3 separate regions of the Homo sapiens genome follow, and regions 1 and 2 are each linked to region 3. The links are contacts of gene promoters, found by promoter capture Hi-C in blood cells and fetal thymus (Javierre and others, 2016). All regions are on one chromosome and are shown on one strand. The core of a region is centred on a gene start or on the middle of the fragment in contact, and the rest is flanking DNA. Distances in the headings are between cores, read along the strand shown. Region 1 holds the start of SLC35A1 (solute carrier family 35 member A1). Region 2 holds the start of ASCC3 (activating signal cointegrator 1 complex subunit 3). Region 3 holds the start of MANEA (mannosidase endo-alpha).

The links. Contacts are between HindIII fragments. The CHiCAGO score rates a contact against its expected background, and 5 or more counts as called.
Region 1: a contact is called between the fragment with the promoter of SLC35A1 here and the fragment with the promoter of MANEA in region 3, in 1 of 17 cell types (activated CD4 T cells). The highest score is 5.4, in activated CD4 T cells.
Region 2: the fragment with the promoter of ASCC3 here is called in contact with the fragment with the promoter of MANEA in region 3 in 7 of 17 cell types (non-activated CD4 T cells, total B cells, total CD4 T cells and 4 more); the score reaches 16.1 in non-activated CD4 T cells.

The regions. Positions count from the first base shown.
Region 1 is chr6:87,471,595-87,474,410 of GRCh38, forward strand. SLC35A1 (solute carrier family 35 member A1) reads left to right here and starts at 1,380. Exons shown (of 8, transcript NM_006416.5): 1 at 1,380-1,425. The coding sequence starts at 1,410. LOC124901357 (a long non-coding RNA gene) reads right to left here and starts at 1,351. Exons shown (of 2, transcript XR_007059668.1): 1 at 1,179-1,351; 2 at 1-904. RefSeq lists enhancers at 1,027-1,933, 1,929-2,098, 2,149-2,248 and a silencer at 1,339-1,478. The HindIII fragment of the contact is 12,962 bases long and covers 1-2,816 here.
Region 2 is chr6:100,879,939-100,882,997 of GRCh38, forward strand. It overlaps ASCC3 (activating signal cointegrator 1 complex subunit 3), which reads right to left and starts at 1,391. Exons shown (of 42, transcript NM_006828.4): 1 at 1,123-1,391. It overlaps LOC107984041 (a long non-coding RNA gene), which reads left to right and starts at 1,519. Exons shown (of 8, transcript XR_007059692.1): 1 at 1,519-1,716. RefSeq lists an enhancer at 1,235-1,354. The HindIII fragment of the contact is 1,558 bases long and covers 314-1,871 here.
Region 3 is chr6:95,575,987-95,579,033 of GRCh38, forward strand. MANEA (mannosidase endo-alpha) reads left to right here and starts at 1,549. Exons shown (of 5, transcript NM_024641.4): 1 at 1,549-1,652. It overlaps MANEA-DT (MANEA divergent transcript), which reads right to left and starts at 1,465. Exons shown (of 3, transcript NR_104136.1): 1 at 1,107-1,465. RefSeq lists silencers at 1,289-1,368, 1,419-1,508, 1,789-1,848 and enhancers at 1,645-2,585, 2,049-2,148. The HindIII fragment of the contact is 3,606 bases long and covers 181-3,047 here.

The sequences.
Region 1 (2,816 bases), core at 130-2,629, 8.1 Mb before region 3:
GCACCAGTGAGCACACTTACTACCAGGTAGAGGAAAAGTCCAACACTATTGCAAAATGAGATTAATCAAATGTCTGCCTCTACAAAGTCAACTCTGGTCTCCTGGGAGCCCCTCCCAATATTAATATGATGCTAATAAGGCATGCAAAATGTTCCAACAATGTTAACAGACCAGATATATCTATATGTATATTTAACAAGACAATGGTATACAACCAACCCTCTAAAAGGACAATTTTGGGGAAAGAACATGCTGCAGAAGGTGTGGGCTGCTGGGCAGCTCAGAATCTTGCATCCCTATTCCTGTAAGTGCTGAGGTATTTTCATATTATTTTAAACCAATCCACATATCTTGAACATCATTTATTTCACCAATGAATTATTTCTAATATCAATTATGATAGCTAATTAACATCCCCTAGTGAAAGTGGAGATTATAGTGGTTAAAATGCCTGTTGATATATCTAATTTTTTTTGTTTTTTGAGACGAAGTCTCGCTGTGTCGCCCAGGCTGGAGTGCAGGGGCGCAATCTCGGCTCACTGCAATCTCCCGGGTTCAAGTGATTCTCCCGCTTCGGCCTCCTGAGTAGCTGGGATTACCGGTGCGCGCCACCACGCCCGGCTAATTTTTTGTATTTTTAGTAAAGACGGGGTTTCGCCATATTGGCCAGGCTGGTCTCGAACTCCTGACCTTAGGTGATCCATCTGCCTCGACTTCCCAAAGTGCTGGGATTACAGGCGTGAGCCACCACGCCCGGCCGATACATCTGATTTTTTAAAGGCCGTTTTGTTGTGCGAAGATCATTAGTTAGAATGCCTGGCTGGGTAAATACAACCGATGACTGCTGACGATATGGAACAGGCACAAGACTTCTGAACGATATGTAGAATAAATTATAACTTATCTAGAACACAAGGTAACAGTGGAAGATAATGAGCCAGGTGGAAGTTACAAATGTTGCCGCAAGTAGTTTCTGTTACTTTACGAGTTCTGGGAGCTTCTCTAACAGCTTTGACAGGAGTGAATCCCCAAGGCTAAACCCAAATCCTTATTTGCCGCCTACTCACGCCTTTGTGAGGACTACGATTCCCAGACGGCAACGCTCCCTTCACTCAACTTCCTTAGCTGGCGGGGAGACGCAGTTTACAGAACTACCTCCCCAACCGAATTTCACACACCTGTCACCTAGGACGCGGCCGGGAAGGCCTCCCTTCGATCCGCGTTCTCCCCATTTTGGGGTGTAGCTTGGATTCCTGAGCCCAGTTTTAGTGCGTGGCCGACCGGGAGGCCGGCGAGGCGCTCTAGGCCGAGCGGCTTCGTCTCTATGACCACAAGGGGCGGTCCCCGGTGTCCTGCGCGGGGGCGCGGAGGGGGCGGGCGTCAGTTCCGCGGGGGGCTGTCGGGGAACCATGGCTGCCCCGAGAGGTGAGAACTGGGTCTGCTGGGAGTGGGGAGTCCGCGGGGGGCGGCGGCGGGCGAGCATCTGCGCTGGTCAGCCCCTGTCGGGCAGCGGAGCACCCTGGTTGCCCAGTGCCTCTGGGGCCTGGCTGAGGCGTCAGGAGTTTGCGTGGAGCCGCTCCCGGCAGTCAGGGCAGCCTGCCTTCCGCTGCGGCTGCAGTCTCCGCGGCTGACTCCGCGCTGGGCAGGTCGGAGTCAGAGACCGCACTGACCTCCACTAGCTGGGAGTGGGTGGGAACCGAATTCTGACAGGCCGGGGCTGCGGCGGACCCGGAGAGAGGCCAGGGCGTGGGTCCGGGGCTGGACCGCATTACCCAGCGAGGCAGGACAGTTCTTCACCCTGGCCCCGCGGCTCCGGTCTCCTCTGCGCCTCCTACCCTGTGGATGCTCAGAGGCTTAAAGGCAGGCTCCGGGCGCAGATCCCATGCGGCGGCTGGGCCATGCAACAACCACTAAAGACATCACTGGGGCGTCAAAACAGCACTGAAATCGTAACGAAAGGAAGATAACAGTCGTTAACAGTTCCCACCTGTATGCTGTGTGTAATTATAGAGAATGCTGTATGCTGCTATTTGGGGTGGAAGCTGAGATCCACCTCCCTCCTCCTGAGGGATGGCACATTCGGGTGAAGGCGTATTTGTTGACTAATTGACATTTAAGGAGGGCGAGTCTAATTGACTCCGCACCACTTTTTGCTGAGCAGTGTGTGTAAGTTGGGACCAGAGGTGGATTCTTTGACTGTGGTGCATTAACCAGGAGAAGTTGGGCAACACCCGGATTCTTGCTCCACCCTTCCTCCATAGAGCACTTGGCTTCACCCTTGAATAAATATTGAACGAATACATAAGGAATATCTTCTTGCGTGGGTTTCAAGTTATTTTCCCTGTTGCGGGGTCCATGTTTCTCATCAGGCCCTGCCCAGGGGCATTGTCTTTAGTTGCATATGCTTCTCTTATGTCTTCTTTCTGTTTCATTTCAAATAAGTCCAATCTTAAAAGCCTTTTTTTGTAGCAACACAGGAAATAAAAGAAAAAGAAATAGAATTGTTTTGATAACTAAAATGGAATGGGGATAGCAAAATTGATCCGAACGAAAACTTATAAATTACAGAAGTCAAATCATTACTTGAAATAGCTGCAACAATGTAAAGGTTTAGGCTTATTGCCAATACATATTTGTTGAGCCTTGATTGTAATCCTAACAAAACTACAGTTTCCATAGTTTCCGAATATCCACAAAGGATTTATCTGGGACTTACAGAATTTCTAAGTTCTTAAGTATTACAAATAATGTCCCCATAAACTATAGTAAAACATAACCGAAAAAAAACATTTTAAACTGTAAGTTTCTTTTGGGGG
Region 2 (3,059 bases), core at 141-2,640, 5.3 Mb after region 3:
CAAGATTCTGTCTTAAAAGGAGGCTGCTGGATTATAGAAAGTTCATGAGCACAGAGACTGTCTCTCTCTTGCTCTCCTAGGCCTAGCCCAGCGTTTGACACATAGGAAGACTTGAATGAATGAATGACAAAAAACTGTTAAGCAGGGATCAAGAAAGCTGAACCATGAAAAATTAATTTCTCATATAAATAGGATTATTTAGCCTAAGCTTAAGAGCATCTTTAAGGATCATTTTTCTCATGCAAGACTATTATAACCATCATTAAAAAAAAGAGACAACATAAACTGGAGCACAATCCATAGTAAAACCAAAAGCTTAATTCTCAACATTTGAGAACTTTGAGAATCAGAAAAAGGATTTCAATCTATGAAACATAAAATCTGGTGATGGAGAAAATGGCTGTCAATCTCACCTAACCTAGGGAAAGAAAGAAAATGTAACCATGAGTTTGAATGCACAAGTGACAACACATCAAACTTTTACCAGCCCCTAGAATTATGCTTCTTTTAAACCAAAGAATAGCAAATACCATTAGCACACTGCATTCCATGAGTAAGTTAATTTATAAGAAACCTATTTGAAATGACTGCCCAGTACTCACAAAACCTCCCTAGCACCCACATACACATTTATTTATTTCAAAATGACATTATAGGCTCCTTGATTGCGAAATTCACCCACAATCCATCACGGTCAGCTACCTATTTACTTTCCAGTGTGTTGGGGGAAAAATATGAGGAAGATTTCTTTCCCCAAATCTACGTGAAGAAAACGAAGTTATCAAGGCTTTGTAACAGAAAAAAAGAAAACAAATTACCCATGCATGGGACAGAAAAACCTCATCTGGTCACGTTGTGGCTTAACACTTGGACAATATGTAGCTTAGGTTAAGTTTTCTATCCCCAACCCCACCTACAAACTCTAGGAATGGGCGGTATTGTTGCGAGACCCCGGACTCGACCTCATGCCACTGAAAAGGATGACAGGTCGGGACTTGCCCCGGAGGCAGGAAGAGAATCTCTGGCGGGTCGCGTAGCCCGCCTCGCCGTCCCCGCCTCCAGCCAGCTCCCCTGGCCGCGGCGACCCTTCTCGTCCTCCCACCTCCACCTCCACCTCCTCACCTCTCGGCCTGGCTCACGCGTTTCCCATCACTCTGTCAGCTCCTGCCACCGCGCCTTCTTCCCTTTCGGTTTTACTTTAACTTCCCACGCCGGGTGAGGAGCTGAGCGCAGGGCCAAAGATGCGAGCGGGCAGCTGTATCGCCGCGCCCCGTCCGCCCTCCAAGCCGCGCTTGCCGGGGTCGCGCCCAGTCACAGGGAACCGCGTGTGAGGACCATCAGTCAGACAGACAGACGCAAAGACGCACAGACCCGGCGAGGAGGGACAGAGTGGAGCTGGCGCCGGCCTACACGTCACCGCCCCGCTGCAGCGCCAACGTCGGCACGTCGACTCGTCGACTCCGGGCCCTCTGCCCCGCCCGCGTGCGCGCGCCGCTCCGCCTCCCGCCTCCAGCCTCTAGTCCGCTGGGTTCGGAGGAGCAGAGGCGGAAGGTCCCGGCGGCGGCGAGGATGCGCCCCAGGGCGGGAGCGGGACGCTCCACTTTACCCTGGCTGCCCGCAACGGGCCAGGCCTGCCGTCTCTACCTCTCTACCTGTGAGTTTTTTCCCTGCATTTACTTCAGTCTGCCGCGTCTTCTCCCCGCCCTTCTCTGTAAGGTAAATATGTGGAGGAAATAATTCCTATTAAAGGTAAAGGAAAGGAGAGCAATTTGAATGAAGAAACAGGTAGTTGCTATCGTCGTTTTCAGCCAAAGCCCTCTGGCTGCTAGAGAGTATACATGGTTCTCTGGTGTCAAGGCCTGTTTTCCATAAGCTTTCTGGATTCTCAGCTTAGTTCCCTCAAAGTGATCTCTGCAAGTCGGCTCTTCGGTCAGAAGACCTCCTCCAAAAACAGAAAGCCCAAAGATTCCCTAACTCGATTGAAAAGATAGGAAGATACGAAGAAAAACTAACCTAAAGAATTGTGTGGTTTATCTGCAAAGAGTTCTAGACTAAAAGCCAACAATGCAAAGATAGTATGAGTTAATATGTTTGTTGTGGCTCTCTTCTGCCATTCCCGCTTCCTCAAGGTAATGTGCCCCGATGCCTGGTAGAACTGTTTTGTAGAGGCAGCCAATAGTGATCCAGTTATTGTCTTTACTGGTCAGACCACCTCTGAAGTGCTGTGTTCAGCATTTGAAGACTTTAATCAAGCTGGCATTATATCAGGGAAGAGCAAAATGATGACGAGAACTCAAAAACAGGGCAAGTGAAGAAGGATTGATTAAACCTTCCAGGACTCACCTAGAAGAGAGAAAACTACTGGACTCTCTCCAAATATGAAATGACCTATCATGTGAAGTTGATTTGTTTCATGTGATGCAAACTTCAGGGAACAGATTTAAGATCCTGAAAAGAAGATGCCCTTGTAGCACGACCCAAAGAATTGCCTACCTTAGCATGTGTGAATACCTCAACCACAGAATTTTGCTTCAAGGAGATTCTGAAGCTCACTTAATAGGGACTTGGTACAGGGGAGCCACACATCAACAGAATAATTAGTTGATGGTTTTGTTAAAGATATTTCCAGTCTTGAGATTACATGTGTCTTTGGTCCTGGACTTCATAGAGTTTACAAGTTAGTTCATGAGACAAGACAAATGCATCACAAAAATAAATAATGCAAGGAGGCCAAGTGATAATGAGAGGTGCTGATAAGTGCTAGGAATTCACATGACAGATTATTCCCATCACAGTTCCAGAGGCTTAAGGGAGAAGAGAGGAACTGAAAATAGACTACCTAGAACTGCCCTATCCATTGGGGTAGCCACCAGTTAAATACGTCTCTTGACATTTGAAATGTGGCTTGTCCAAACTGAGACATGCAATGAGTCCAAAATGTACACCAGATTTCAAAGACTTAGAAAACAAATGTAAAATATTGTAATTCTTATGTCGATTACATGTTGAAATAATATATAATGGATCAAATAAAATATGTTAAAATTAATTTCAACTTT
Region 3 (3,047 bases), core at 299-2,798:
ATTATATTATTATTTGTCCTTTCTGTGTTTAAAGTTGCTACAATTAAACTTTTAAACTTGTAGAAGAAAGAATAGTTTCTGATGTTATGTTGGGAAGAATCTTGTAAGCAAGAAAGCAAAAAGCACAAAATTAAAATGTAAAATATTATTAAATTCAAAAAGCTGTATACTGAAGCATAAAGCTTTTGGCAATCAAGAAACATCATAAAAACTGGAAAGACAGTCCATAAACTAAGAGAAGACATTTGCAACACATGTAACTTACAAGAGAGAATTAAACTAGAAAAAATAAATATTATCTACAAAATAATTTTCAAAAGCAAGCAATTTAATAAAAAATGAGATAAAATTAAGAACAGGCTTTAGCAAAAGGGAAAATGCAAATTAAAAGAGCAATCAGATGCTCTTATCAGCAAAAACTTAAAAAGTCTAACAATAGCATAAGGGTAACGATGTGCCAGTCTAGTTTATGGGAAATGGACTTGTATACAGACGAATCTCAAAACCTCTCAAAACCTAAATTAGTGAAAAAAGGGGAAAAATGAAGAATGATTCACATATGAAATATAAAACTAGGAAAATAGTATTTTTAGGGAATCGTACATATGTAACTATTTTCAGAAATACAACGGAATGAGTAATATAAAATTCAGCATAATGGTGAACGGAAGGAAGGAGATGTTTTTAGAGAGTCTTCTTTCTAGAAGACTCCAAAAATACTGGCATTTTTTTTTTCTTAAGCTCTGTAGTGGGTACCTGGGCATTTTTCATTCTTCTTTAAGATATGCACATGAGATATACTCATATGTATATTTCCCAATTAAAATTGGTGTACAAAATCTTTTTAAGGAGAGCCCTTATGAAACTGTTCACATCAGCAAGTTCTAGCTTGAATAAGGACTTCCTGTTACTATGTAACCAAACAAAAGATAGCATTTTCTTGTTTTCTGAAGCTAATGTAAGATGGAAACCTTCAGTTGTAATCCTATTTCAAAAGTTCTTGCTCTTCACATCTGACTTATCCTCAATTATTTCTAGTACTTCAGTACAGATGTGATTTTATAGAATACATTCGCAAATTAAAAACGCCATCTCCATCTGCCTACCTTGGGCTTCCAAGTAAAGTTCTATTTTTACAAAAATCAAAACAGTTCCTCAACTTTAAAAGTTTGAAAACCAGTGTACTTGTAAAGCACTTGATGCAAGCAACTTCTGAATGTTTCACATAAAAACAAACAAAAATGTGTCCTCTGTAATACAGTTAGAGCCTCCCAACAGAGCCTCAGAAGACCGTTTCTAAAGGCAGTGAGTTCTACTTGCAGAAATAGGGCGGGAGTGCAGTCTGACTCCAATCCACACGTCCTTCCCCTCTGACAGAACGCCCCAAAACGCAGTCCTCTCTTTCTTCCGCGCCGCTCCCGCCCTAGTCCTCTTAGACCCGCGACCGGAGGCTCCGGAAGACCCCGAGCCCCGCCCGCTCCGTGACCCCGCCCCCACCCGTCCCGCCCCTGAAAGCGCCCGGAACGCTGTGCGCGCGCCTTCGGGGAGGAGGGGCTGTCTGGGCTCGGGGCGCGGCGGCAGTCAGCTCTATGTTCGCGGTCTTAACCTCTCCTCTGGCCGAGTCCTTGCAAGAAGTGAATTACCCGACCCTGGTGAGTAGCTGCAGGAGTCAGACCTCTTGGAGGCGGCGGCGCCAGCAGCGGCGGCAGGCACGAGGTCCACCGCGGGCGCCTGCGCGCTCGCCCGCCAGCCAATCTGGTGGCCGCTTTCCTCCGGGCGCCCTTTGACCCGGCGCCCCTCTGGCAGGCGCTGGTGGCGCCCAGCGGCGAGCCTGTAGCCCCCTCGATTAACCTAGGCTGTCACTCTTAGGCCTGTTTTAGTCTGCGTTAGTTTTACTGCCTTTTACACTGCTTTATCCCCACCTCACTGGCCTCGTCGCCGCCTCCTCTTTGAAACGGTACCTCCTGTCGCCTCGGATTTTCCTTGTCTCCCCGACAAGGTGGAAATTTCGGGTCGGATGGAAGCCTTTTTCAGCACCTTCTCCTTGTGCCCCCAGACTGCCTCTGGGCCTTGAGCCGACCGGGAGAGTAGAAGGATCGAGGCCTGCTGGGCTCTGGGTGCAACGGAAAGGTAGCTGTCGCCTCTGGGCATCGGGAGGAGACCGCCCGATGGCGAGGCCGCTAGAGATGGTTTTTCAGTTCACCTGTTAACGTGTTTGGCACTGTCATCTTAGACTCTTAGCCTTTGCTAAGTCGGGATGCAACAGTGCTGGATTAGTGTTTTTGTTGTTCCTTTTTCCAAAGAAGCAACTTGAAGTACAGGCAGGTATAACTGTTTGGTTTTGTTGTTGTAAGACCCTACGGATAAGTGTTAGGAGAAAATGTGGAAGTGCTATAAAACAACAACAAGGGGGGGATAATGTTGATTAAGAACTTGAAAATAAGAAAAATGGGACTGGAATAGGCTGTTCACGTTAAAGTATTGAGGCAGTAGTTTGAAACAAAAATATAAAGTAAAACCTAGATATTGGTGATACTGTATCACGTTGTTTGCAAATCACTTTCATGACAATACATCTATTTCAGGTGTATCACACCTGAAAAAAACATGAGTGCTGTGAATTTGTGGATTTTCAGGCTCAATGCAGAAAAACACCCCCCAAAACAAAAAATCACAACAATGAAAACACCATTTCCAGAGCTGTTGCTGTTATTCGTGTGACGAATAGTGAATGTATGATCATAAAATAGAATAAGCTGTCTTTAGATGAAGTTTGGGCACAGTTTATGGAGTAGGTAACAGTTAATCATTGTTTATTAGGTACATAATCCTTAATTGAAAACATAACCATATAGCAGCAGCTTTCATCTTGTGTCACAAAAATAACTGGTGTATCCTCTAAATTTGATTTGTCTAATACCTTAAAGGAAGGCAGAATAGCATGGACAAGAACTTGAGTTCTTGAGCCAGACTCGATCTGCTCCTTGCTAGGTGATTAACCTTAGATTGGTTTCTTGGCCATTTGCTGGCCCAGAGATTTTTGAAAA